Regions from separate parts of the Homo sapiens genome. Here all the other regions are linked to region 2. Evidence: promoter capture Hi-C in 16 types of primary human blood cells and fetal thymus (Javierre and others, 2016). All regions are on one chromosome and are shown on one strand. Each heading gives the region's core, a stretch centred on a gene start or on the middle of the fragment in contact. The rest is flanking DNA. Distances are from core to core; before and after follow the strand shown. Region 1 overlaps TP53BP2 (tumor protein p53 binding protein 2). Region 2 holds the start of NVL (nuclear VCP like). Region 3 overlaps TP53BP2 (tumor protein p53 binding protein 2).

Evidence for each region. The method cuts DNA at HindIII sites, captures the fragments that hold promoters and counts their contacts. A CHiCAGO score of 5 or more calls a contact.
Region 1: a fragment that was not itself captured here is called in contact with the fragment with the promoter of NVL in region 2 in 7 of 17 cell types (naive B cells, total B cells, total CD4 T cells and 4 more); the score reaches 9.5 in naive B cells.
Region 3: a fragment that was not itself captured here is called in contact with the fragment with the promoter of NVL in region 2 in 7 of 17 cell types (total B cells, naive B cells, naive CD8 T cells and 4 more); the score reaches 12.4 in total B cells.

Annotation. Positions count from the first base shown.
Region 1 is chr1:223,793,424-223,797,273 of GRCh38, reverse strand. It overlaps TP53BP2 (tumor protein p53 binding protein 2), which reads left to right. Exons shown (of 18, transcript NM_001031685.3): 13 at 684-1,459; 14 at 3,834-3,850. Among named protein-coding and RNA genes, the nearest start is that of TP53BP2, 51 kb to the left of the region's middle. The HindIII fragment of the contact is 1,135 bases long and covers 1,009-2,143 here.
Region 2 is chr1:224,327,940-224,331,944 of GRCh38, reverse strand. It overlaps NVL (nuclear VCP like), which reads left to right and starts at 1,773. Exons shown (of 23, transcript NM_002533.4): 1 at 1,773-1,874. The coding sequence starts at 1,818. RefSeq lists enhancers at 1,556-1,705, 1,726-1,775, 1,966-2,015, 2,066-2,205. The HindIII fragment of the contact is 14,633 bases long and covers 1-4,005 here.
Region 3 is chr1:223,812,963-223,817,215 of GRCh38, reverse strand. TP53BP2 (tumor protein p53 binding protein 2) reads left to right here. Exons shown (of 18, transcript NM_001031685.3): 3 at 2,863-2,976. Among named protein-coding and RNA genes, the nearest start is that of TP53BP2, 31 kb to the left of the region's middle. The HindIII fragment of the contact is 789 bases long and covers 2,227-3,015 here.

The sequences.
Region 1 (3,850 bases), core at 327-2,826, 530 kb after region 2:
TCATAGGACTAGAATAAAACTTACCATGTTTTAATTGAATGAAAATAGCTTTGTAGTCATGAAATAACCATGTAATTGTGACCTAAGATGCCATAATTAAAATTAGCAAAGAATCAGTATATATGCTACCTCTTACTCTTCTTTTCATGGGTCTTTAGTGAAAATGGAATAATTTGGGAATTAGATAATTTTAATATAATCAGAATGTTAACAGGGAATATCTTTGGTAACTATAAGTGGTTCTTAATAATTTTATAAGCCAAATAGAAGTTCTCACGTTGATTCACTTTTGAAAAGTGAAAGATGGGATAGTACATGTTTAGTTTTAATCTGGACACATGAGGATTATCTGTTTTCATTGCATCTAAATGTTTTTCACATTTTGTTATTTTAAATTTGGATGCTACAGTGATTTCTTAAAACGGCAACATTTTCTTATTGTTTCATGAGATATGGTGCATGTTACAATCAGTGGGGGTTTTGATTCTGTAATAAGTTTATTATGCAAAGATGGATTCCCTGCTTTGTCATTTATTTTTAAAAATTAATTATATTTGAAGGGGATTATGTAGTAACAACTATGAAATTAAAAGAGGCTTTAGTTATTGTTAGCTGTTTCTGTTTCTTGCCAGTTTTGTTTAATTAATGCTAATGAGGGCTTTTTTTTTTCCTTTTCCAATTAGTATATGGTAAGCCTGTAATTGCTGCTGCCCAGAATCAACAGCAGCACCCAGAGAACATTTATTCCAATAGCCAGGGCAAGCCTGGCAGTCCAGAACCTGAAACAGAGCCTGTTTCTTCAGTTCAGGAGAACCATGAAAACGAAAGAATTCCTCGGCCACTCAGCCCAACTAAATTACTGCCTTTCTTATCTAATCCTTACCGAAACCAGAGTGATGCTGACCTAGAAGCCTTACGAAAGAAACTGTCTAACGCACCAAGGCCTCTAAAGAAACGTAGTTCTATTACAGAGCCAGAGGGTCCTAATGGGCCAAATATTCAGAAGCTTTTATATCAGAGGACCACCATAGCGGCCATGGAGACCATCTCTGTCCCATCATACCCATCCAAGTCAGCTTCTGTGACTGCCAGCTCAGAAAGCCCAGTAGAAATCCAGAATCCATATTTACATGTGGAGCCCGAAAAGGAGGTGGTCTCTCTGGTTCCTGAATCATTGTCCCCAGAGGATGTGGGGAATGCCAGTACAGAGAACAGTGACATGCCAGCTCCTTCTCCAGGCCTTGATTATGAGCCTGAGGGAGTCCCAGACAACAGCCCAAATCTCCAGAATAACCCAGAAGAACCAAATCCAGAGGCTCCACATGTGCTTGATGTGTACCTGGAGGAGTACCCTCCATACCCACCCCCACCATACCCATCTGGGGAGCCTGAAGGGCCCGGAGAAGACTCGGTGAGCATGCGCCCGCCTGAAATCACCGGGCAGGTCTCTCTGCCTCCTGTAAGTAATGTACTATCTCATAGCCTTTTCCGGAGTCCTTTACTTTGTTACGATTTTCTTGGTGGTCACATTCATCTTCTCCAGTTTGCATTTTTATTTTACGATTCCCTTGGCACAGAGTGGATCTTATAAATGTTTTCATAATGCAGTTTATTCAATATAAAGAACATTTTTCTGTTTTAGAGAGAACCCATTTATTTGTGAAAGAAACAGAGTTTTGTTCTTATCCCTATAAACACTGCATTTGCTGTTTCTTCTCTAGCTGATGTGACATATTAGGGAAGCAGCACCCGACTGGGACTCAAAAGACCTGGGTTTGAAACTTTTGATTACTAGCTTAGCTGTGTGAAATCAGGCAGATGGTATAACTTCTCTCATTGATGATGTCAATCTTTTTAAAAATTTTCTAGCAGTGAAATTTTAAAAAATGAAATGTTAGGTGAAACCTCAAACTTACAACAGTGGTAAAATTGGAAGGGTTCTGGATGGAGTGAGGGCAGGGAGGGGTAACTGGGCTGAGGGGCCCCTCTTCAGCCTCTTCCTCCCCTTCAACGAAGTCTGAAAATCTCTGGCTAATATGGTGATCCCTAAGATTTCTTTGTACTTTAACATACGAAAGTTATTCTAAGATTTTGTATGTTTTGGCTTGAGTGCACCTTCTACACTCCTTCCAGATAGTAAGCTTTTGTTTGAAATTTAAGCTTCCATCCTCTCACTTTGACATAGGTGAGAGAAAATAAAAATCCCAGAATGTCTGAATGAAGTCTGCTTTTTCATAGTTTAATTTGAAGCCACTTTGCTTCAGTAAGCACGGAAGGAAGTAGGATGCTGAACTATGAATTTAAAACCTGGTGAAAAGCAAAATAGCATTAAAAGAATTTTTTTAAATGTACTTTGCATGTTTGATTCCTTATTATCTTTTAGATATGATAGTATTCAAAGATAATAATTGTCCACAGTTATTTTTAACAATTGGTTACAGTAAATGTTTGCTTAAAAGTTTTATGTACTAAACATTTGAAGCTAGAAAAAAAAGTTTTAAAATAGAGGTTAACAGTTTTTAAACAACCCTGTGCCTCGTAAGTTCTGAGGCTTGATTCTCTTTGAGTTTTAAACATAAGAAAAGAAGGACGTTTTATTCCACATTGGCCAAAACCAATCCACGTTACAGCCACTTGTTATTTTCTGGCCTTTTTGTTGCTGTGTCAAAATAATCCACATTTTCAAGGAGAAAAAAGGAAAACTAGAATTGGTAAAAGTATTATACTTTCTTTTTAAGATTCTGCTGTTCTCTTCCTAGGAAGGTGTCTTACCTTTTCCTTCTCGATTTAAGTAAAATAGAAGCAACTATCTCGTACATTCTTTAACAGTGGGATCGGCAAGTGTCATTACACTGTACTGCTTATGACTTGTATTAACCACAGTCAGATAACATTCAGAGAGCAACATTTTAGTCATTGCACATTGTGAAATGTATTGTCGCTTAATGTTTTTTAAAACTTGGCAATTTTCCACATCTGAGATAAAATGAAAGAATTATGTGGAGTACATATATCACACCTCACAACAGTAAACGTCTCTACTTTGTTGGGTGTGTTTAAGAAACCTGTTTTACAGGATACTGGATCTAGTCTTTAAAATTTTGCCTTTTTTTTTTTAAGTCCGATTCATTAAAAGTTTAAGCTGGTAGGATTTATCCTTGTTATACCTAAGACAGACTAATAATCTGTATTATTTACCTTAATTATATGCTTTCCCCCGAGGAGGCATTCTGGTGTGAAATGGTTAAGATGGCAGACTTTAAAGAAGCCAGCTTACCTGGATTTGCGTCCCAGCTCTGCCATTTGCCGGCTGTGTGCCTTGGTTTCCTTATCTGTAAACTAGGGATCATAGGGTTTTTGTGAGGGTTAATGAATAATCATTCAATATAGGTTAGCTGTTGTAGTTGTGGGCTGTGCTGTTGCTCACTTTAAGAGAGTGGAGTTTGCTGTACTGTATTAGATAGGCAGTCTAAAGACCAGTCTTGGCTAATTCTGATACTTGACAGAACGCTAGCCTATTTGCCACTTCTGATTATACTCTTAGTTTAATTCATACTATAACATATAACCCAAACGTAATTATGTTAGATTTTATAAAGTTATGTTCCTCCAACTTTGCTCCATGGTATTTGTTCACTTTGTGAAAGTTCATTACGCTGCATGTCAGATTCGTATACTTTTCTGAATAATGTTATACTTCAATAAAATGTGCCAAATCTATATTGTTAAAGTGCCTCTCACTAATTTAGGTGAGAAGTCATTCCTTCCCATTTGCTGCTGTTGTTCTCTTGCATAGACGAGGATCCTAAATTTTCCACCCATTTTCTTTGCAGGGTAAAAGGACAAACTT
Region 2 (4,005 bases), core at 524-3,023:
AAAAGTGAAGGAAAGGCCAGGTGCGGTGGCTTATACCTGTAATCCCAGCACTTTGGGAGGCCAAGGCAGGTGGATCACCTCAGGTCAGGAGTTGGAGATCAGCCTGGCCAACATGGCAAAACGCCATTTCTACTAAAAATACAAAAAATTAGCCGGGTGTGGTGGTACACACCTGTAGTCCCAACTACTTGGGAGGCTGAGGTGGTAGAATCTCTTGAACCCAGGAGGCGAAGGTTGCAGTGAGCTGAGATTGCGCCACTGCACTCCAGCCTGGGCAACAGAGCAAGACTCTGTATCAAAAAAAAAAAAAAAAAAAAAAGAAAAGAAAGAAGGAAATTCTAACACATGCTATATGAGGGCATTAAGCTAAGAAACAAGCCAGTCACAAAAGTCAAATACTGGAAGATTCCACTTATATGAGGAAGTTAGTGTAGTCAAAATCATAAAGACAGTAAGTAGAATGGTAGTTGCCAGGGGCTGGGGGGAGGGAGGAATGGGGAGTTATTTTTTAATTAGTATAGAGTTTTAGTTGTACAAGATGAAAAGAGTTCTGGAACTAGATGGCAGTGATGGTTGCATATTATGAATGTATTATCACTAAACTGCACACTTTAAAATGTTTAAGATGGTGAATGTTCTTATATTTTACAACTAAAAAAATAAAAAATAAAACTACACATAGTGAAGAAGTAGGAAATGAAGTTGCAACCAAACGGATCAATATTTTGAGTGGGAAATCTAATACTTAATTCAGTGCTAATTTTTATATTTTTAGTAGAGACAAGGTTTCACCATGTTGGCCAGGCTGGTCGTGAACTCCTGACCTCAAGTGATCTGCCCGCCTCGGCCTCCCAAAGTGCTGGGATTACAGGTGTGAGCCACCGTGCCCGGCCTCACGCCCTTCTCTTAATTCCATTTTCTCTCCCCTCTGCCCCTTAATACACTGCACTTAACCTTGTCATAAGCCAAGGAGGACCTGAAATAAGAATACTCAAAACACGGTTGAAATAAACAAGAAGACAGAAACTAAAGCCAGCATTTTTTTTTTAATGCTTGGTAACTGTCCCTTTGTGTCTCCCTAAGTGCAGGATAAACTTCTTGGGGCAAATACAAACGTTTGATAAAATTCTGGGCCAAGGAGTCCTGCACTGGATATATTCAACAAATTACCTGCCGATGATAACAGCGTAAGTCAAACGAGTTCTAAAAGTAACAAATGACTTAGTTATCTGGATAAATCCGTCCTTCCTTTTCTTTTTCACCTAGCCCTTTTGTCGGGCCTCTAAAATGTAAGATAACTACGTGGGAAAGCAAGCAGCGGCTGGTGGTGTGTTTTTACCCTGATTTTATCACTCCAAGTATCTACCGTGGCTGGTTTTGCGAAGACTAGCTTTGTATCAGAATGAGGTGTGGCTGGAACGCCTGAGGAAAGCAAACCAAGTTTTCCAGAGGACGCCGTTGACAGCGTCTCCGCACACCGCGCCGGGGTAGGAACTTCCTCCCACCTGGTTCGCCCGGCGGGGAACCAATAAAGTTGAGCGCGTTCAAAGGGGTCCTAATCTTCCAGGGTCCACTGGGCAGGCCTGCAAAATAAGGCCCCTAGAAACTCCCTGAGGTTTTCAAGTCTTCTCCCTCTCCTCGGAATTTTTTCCCCTTCATTCGCATTACTTTTATTCTGACGGAAACGGCGCGGGCTAGGCCCCAGGAGGGGCGCATTTCAGGTGCAACTGGCCCGGCGATCGCGGCGGGCAACCCCTACGAGGCCCCCGGTTGACTAGGAGCTGGCGGTCCGAGCTGTGGCTTGGAAGACCGACGCGATGAAGCCCAGACCTGCAGGGTTCGTGGATAATAAACTCAAGCAGCGAGTCATCCAGGTGTGTATTCTGCACCGCTTGGCCTCGCCAAGGGCCCCGATCGCTGCCCCAGGGTGCCACTCCCCTTTTGTCGGGTGGCATCCAGGTGGAACTCAACTAGTCTTCTTTCCCCAGTCTGGGTCTGGGCGTGCGTCTGTTTCTCCTTAGTTGGTGCTGCCGGGGCCTTCCCTACCCACGTTGGTGCGGAGTCTCAGGGAGAAGCCGGGGATGGTGGGAGGGTGCAGCTTGGTAGGGCTGCCCAAGTTGTCTGGTCGTCTTCAGCGCAGATCATTCAGTAGAGTGGAGGTAGCCTTTGAATTTTAACCTCTTTGGCTTGTGAAGTTAGCACAGGAATGGTCTTCAAACGCTCGCATTGTAAGAGGTCCTTGAGAAGGGGTGGCATAAATAATATGTTAATTTCCGTTCTCAAGGAACTTACACACTAAAACGAGATAACATGGGTCTGGCAACAGTAACAGGCACTTTGCCTACGGTTTTCTCATTTTCATGACCATCAGTAAAAAGCAGTGTGTGGCAAATACCTCAGAATGTAAGCAAGCAGTCTGAGTTAAAAGGTGGGAGAGAATTTTCTTCACTTAGGAATTTGTGAGCTACACATTCTCCTTGTTTTTCTTTCACTTCACCAGCCCCTAAACAATCTCCTTTTCGGACCCATCTTTTCCTACCAACTTGTAAATGTTGGAAGTGCTCTGTGCCACTGTTCTCTTACCTCCCCTTCCTCCTCTTTCCTCATACACCTTTCTTATCTATCCATACTTCCTATGTGATCTCATTTAGTGTAATAACCTTTGAGTAGTATCTACATACTCTATTATCTATGTATTTATTTCATTTTATTTTTATTTTTCTGAGACATAGTCTCGCTCTGTTGCCCAGGCTAGAGTGCAGTGGCTGTTTATGGGCACAATCATAACTCACTGCACCCTCGGCCTCCCTGACTCAAGTGATCCTCCCTCCTCAGCCTCCCCAGTAGCTGGGACTACAGGTGTGCACCACCACACCTGGCTAATTTATTATTATTATTATTATTTGTAGAGACGGGGTTCCACTATGTTACTCTGGCTGGTCTCTAACTCCTGGGCTCAAGCGATCGGGCCTCAGCCTCCCAAAGTGCTGGGATTACCGGTGCAAGCTGCTGCACTGGCCTCTGTATATTTATGACTGCTAACTTTATATCTCCAGTCCAGATTTTATCTTGAAGTACAGATTGATATATCCAGCTGCCTAGTCAGCATATCTCCAAATTAAAATGGCCAAGTGGAATTTGTGATTTTTTTCTTCCTTCAAATCTGCCCTTTCTTAGTGTTCTGTATCTCAGTAAATGATACTACCGTTCGTCCTGTTGTTAAGGCCAAAAACCTTAAGGATCATTCTGAGTCTTTCATTTCCTGTATACCATCTGTCAACAGCCTGGTTGGCTTTACTTTCAAAATATATTCCAAGTACTTCTTACTGTCTTTCCCTGTAACCATCTTAGTCCAAACCATCATCTCTACCTTATACTATTACAATAGCCTCCTAACTGATCTCTCTGATTCTGCTTTTACCTAAAGCCTATTCCCCACAGAGCAGCCAGAGACATCTAATTTTTTTTTTTTTTTCTGCTCACTGCAACCTCTGCCTCCTGGGTTCAAGTGATTCTCCTGCCTCAGCCTCCCGAGTACGTGGGATTACAAGTGCATGCCATCACGCCTGGCTACTTTTTGTATTTTTAGTAGGGATGGGATTTCACCATGTTGGCCAGGCTAGTCTCGAACTCCTGACCTCAGGTGATCTGCCCGCCTCAGCCTCCCAAAGTGCTGGGATTACAGGCGTGGCCAAGACATCCTTTTAAAGGGAAAAATCGGGCTAGGGGAGGGATAGCATTAGGAAAAATACCTAATGTAGATGACGGGTTGATGGGTGCAGGAAACCACCATGGCACCTGTATACCTATGTAACAAACCCGCATGTTCTGCACATGTATCCCAGAACTTAAAGTATAACTAAAAAAAAGGGGGGGGAAATCAGAGCTTGCCATAGCCCTGCTCAAAACCTTTCAGTGGAGTCACAGACATCTAGAGTAAAACCCAGTCTGAAAAGCCCTGCATATTCTGGCCTCTGTTGTCCTAGTTTACTTTTCCTCTCCTGT
Region 3 (4,253 bases), core at 1,372-3,871, 520 kb after region 2:
CCCTCCCCCTCCTCCACATGCAGTAATTGATGTGAAATATTTTATTTTTTTATTGAGACAAGGTCTTGCTGTGTCGCCCAGGCTGGAGTGCAGTGTGATTCAGTCTTGGCTTGCTGCAGCCTTGACCTTCTAGGCTCAAGTGATCCTCCCACCTCAGCCTCCTGAGTAGTTGGGACTATAGGAATGTGCCACCACACCCAGCTAATTTTTGTATTTTTTGTAAAGATGGGGTTTTGCTATGTTGCCTAGGCTGGTCTTGAACTCCTGGGCTTAAGTGATCCTCCAGCCTCAGCCTTCCAAAGTGTTGGGATTACAGGTGTGAGCCACTGTGCCTGGCCAGGCCACACATTTTTTTTTTTTTTTAATGTGTATATTTAAGGTATACAACATGATGTTATGGGATACCCATAGGTAGTAAAAAGGTTACTATCATGAACCACATTAACATAAAGGTTCACACATTTGAAAATGTAATATATATTGTCAGATTTCCTTCTGCAAAGGTTATATCAGTTCATACCCTTTCCAGTTATTTCTAGATGTATTCCTCATCAAGTTATAATATTTTAACTTTTACTAAACTGATAGCTGAAAACCTGACTTTTGTTTAAATTTGCATATTTCTGATTTCAAATGTGGTTGCCTGTTTTTTCATTTGTTCATTGGCCATTTGGCTTTTTGGTTTTTGAAATTGTTTCTTTATATTCTTTGCTCATGTTTACTCTGGCTTTTTCCCTTCCCTCTTGATTTGTAGGCATTTAAAAACCATTCAGGATCTTAGGCCTATTAGTGTGTTATTAAAAAAAAAATTCTTATTCCAGAGGTGTAAATGTGTTCCCCTATTATTTAATTCTCTAAGTGTTTAGCCTTTCTTCTCCTCTCCTGTCTTGTTTCCTTTTGCATTTCCTCACTACCCACTCGTGTATTTGCTTAGTGAATATTTCTCGGATGCCTGTTATGTGCTAGGGACTGCACTTGATTGAGAGGGATACAGAGATGAAAGTTGCCTTCAGGTATCTTACAGGGCACAAAGAGAAACAAGTATCCACAGACATTTATAATACAATGTGATAGTTGCAGTAATAGATGTATTTCATCTGCAGGAGAAAAGGGTGCTGGGGGAGATGATGAATGATAGGAATGGCATGTTCAGAGTCACATAGGCAGGAATGCCCTGTCAAGGAGATACAGTCATGTGTCAATAATGGTGATACGTGCCGAGAAATTTGTCATTAGGTGATTTTGTTGTGTGAACATCATAGAGCGTACTTACACAAATCTAGATGGTATAGCCTACTACACACCTAGGCTATATGGTATACAGCCTTTTGCTCCTAGGCTACAAACCTGTACAGCATGTTACTGTATTGAATACTGTAGGCAGTTGTAACACAGTGGTACATATTTGTGTATCTAAACATAGGAAAAGGTACAGTAAAAATATGGCCTTAAAATCTTATGGGACCACTGTCAACATGCAGTGCATGACCGTAGGTGTGGCTGGCACATGAGTGTTAGTAGGGAGCTTTGAGAGCCTTTAAGTGTCTGTTTCAGCTTATGCAGGCCTATGCCTGATCTTTTGCCATCACAGGGCCATCGGGATGTTAGCCTAGAGCTTGTGAGAAGTCCATATCTTTCTGGGGCAGTCCAGCGTGGACAGCAAGCTACTTTACTTCCTTTGAGTTCTCTCTTTGCTCCTGGAACCTGGAGATTTTACTTGTTTTGAGTACAGCATGTGTGTGTGTATTTTGTAGGGGTGGGTGGAAGGGCTACTCAGAATTTCTTTTGGAGGTGTTTCTCTCTAACTGTGGTGTATCCTTTTTGGGGGAGGTCTTAGAATATGTGTGGTTTATAAAAGGGGATTATCTATGTCAACTCAGTATGTTATGTTACTGGAAGTAGAACCAGAACTGCATTTTGTTGCAGCCAAGCAGATTAAGTTCAGGGTTGGTTCACCAAATTGGCTGGTGAATGCTTGCCTGCTCTGTTCTCTGCCCATGTTTATTTAAGGTGTTAAGATAGTGTCCTTGATTACTGATAAATGTGTTGAGTTTTCTTAGGGTATTTCAACATTCTTATATTTAAAAATCATGTTGACATTACTGGAGTTTCATTGATTTTAAGCAATTGCCTCCTCAAACAGTGTGTCTCGTTTTTATATCCAGATCCCTTGAGATTGGAAGATTTTTTTAGGACAGCTTGAGATATATTGTTTCTCCTGAAGCTTCTATTTTTACTAGGTATTTAGGTGTGCCCTTCTTTTTGTTTCCAGAAAAATTCTGACACTGGTATTCTCACTGGAAGAGGGGCAAATATAGATACATTTTACAGCAGTAAATAGACTTTTATTTGGAAATGGATGGGTCTGATTTTTTTAAATATTGTTTGTAAAATTATAATTTAAAAATAGCCTGTATTGAAAACTACAATTAAAAAAAAAAGACTAGGCTATTTAGAAAGTTGCTTTTTAATATTTTCTTTGTATATTCGGAGAATCATGAATATTAGTGTTAGAAGGGACTATGTGATCTAATATAGATTTTACAGAAACTTTTGGAACCACAGAAGTTAAATGGTGCACCTGTGGCCAGCGTGGAGCCCACTGGATTTAGACTGCTGAGCTCCTGACAGCTGGCTGAGATGCATTGCCTTTTGTAGTATTCCACCCTGGCTTGACTCTGTGTGTGTGGAAAATCTGTGTGACTTCAGTTTCTAAGACGTGTTTTAATGAAAAAAATTTACCTGAGATACTAAGCATTTGTTGTATCCATAATGTATAATTTGCATGAAGGATAGATGGTGAATGATATATTTATCTTTCTTTTACCTGAAAATAATGTGGTTTCTACTCATTTGCTTTAGAACGTCCAGTTGCGGATAATGAGCGAATGTTTGATGTTCTTCAACGATTTGGAAGTCAGAGGAACGAAGTTCGCTTCTTCCTTCGTCATGAACGCCCCCCTGGCAGGGACATTGGTAGGTAGTGCTCTGTGAATCGTGACAGATATTTAAGCTTTTATTTTGTGCTGGGAGTAGTAGGTGGCACATGATGAGAAGCCAGGTAATTTGAGAGGTGAAGGAGAGGTTAGGAAGTGGAAACAGTGGAGATAGGCTGTCGAGGGGAGAAGTTTGACTATAGTTGTTTAATGCAGGTGGGAAGGAGTCATTAGAGCAGGGGGTTGAAACTATAAGAAAGGAAATACTTGTTAGGCAGGGTCCCTGATTAGGTCCTTCCACAGCCCTGAGGCAGAAAGTCCTCTTAGACAAGAGGAAGGATCCCTCTTCCATAATAACAGGACAGAAATAAAACTGTGGCAGATGTGGCTAAATTTGTGCATTTTGTGGGAGTAAGTTGAGGGATTTCTCATCTAAAAACATTTGTTTTCTCTGAGGTAGGAGTGATGATGGAGGTGGGTGGGAAGCTGGAGCTGTTTTGGAGATTAGGAGAGAGGGCTTACTAGGGAAGCCAGACTGCTGGGAACCATTGAGGCCAGTTGAGATTAGAGACCATGAGACCATACATGATTTTTCTCCAGTGGTGGTCTACAGCCCAGGTGGGTTGTAAGAAGAGAAGAAAACAAAGGTGTCTAGACAAATTTTTCTAGGCAATTGTCTAGAAAACCCAAGGTTTCTAGACAAATTCAATGGGAGTTCAGTGGGACAGGGGAGAAGAGGGTATTGGCAAGGTGATACCTTAGCTGGGTGGGGAAGAAGTGAAGACAGGAGGGGCTGTGGGGAAAGAGTAGACAGAGTTAAGAGGCTGTGAGTCTCAGTTAGATGAAAGAACAGGTGTGAGAGGAAATGAGTGAGACGCCTGAGATTGAAAGGAAATAGTGGTCAAAAAACAGAAGGTTTGAATTGAAAATTTCGGAGGTAGAGGGCTTCTAGTGTTGTGGTCCCAGGTGGGGCCCTGAAATGAGGCTGAATTAGAGTGGAGACGAGAAAGCTAGAACTGAGAGGCTAGCATTTGGGCGGTAATGTCATCCAGAATGAAGGCAGGACTTGGAGGTGGAGAGAACAAGGGAGTCAGTTGGTCACATCGTTAGTGACCAGGGATTGTGACCAGAGTTTATAGATGACTGTAGGGGGAGGGTGGAGAGAGAGTGTGGGTGGGAAGCAGCAGTAGACACTGGGGACACAGCCATCCCTGTGACCCAGCAGTCTTGTAGGATGTGGGAGAACGAGCAGGGTTATTGGACATTACAAAAGCTCAGTTTTGGCTGAGCGCGGTGGCTCATGCCTGTAATCCCAGC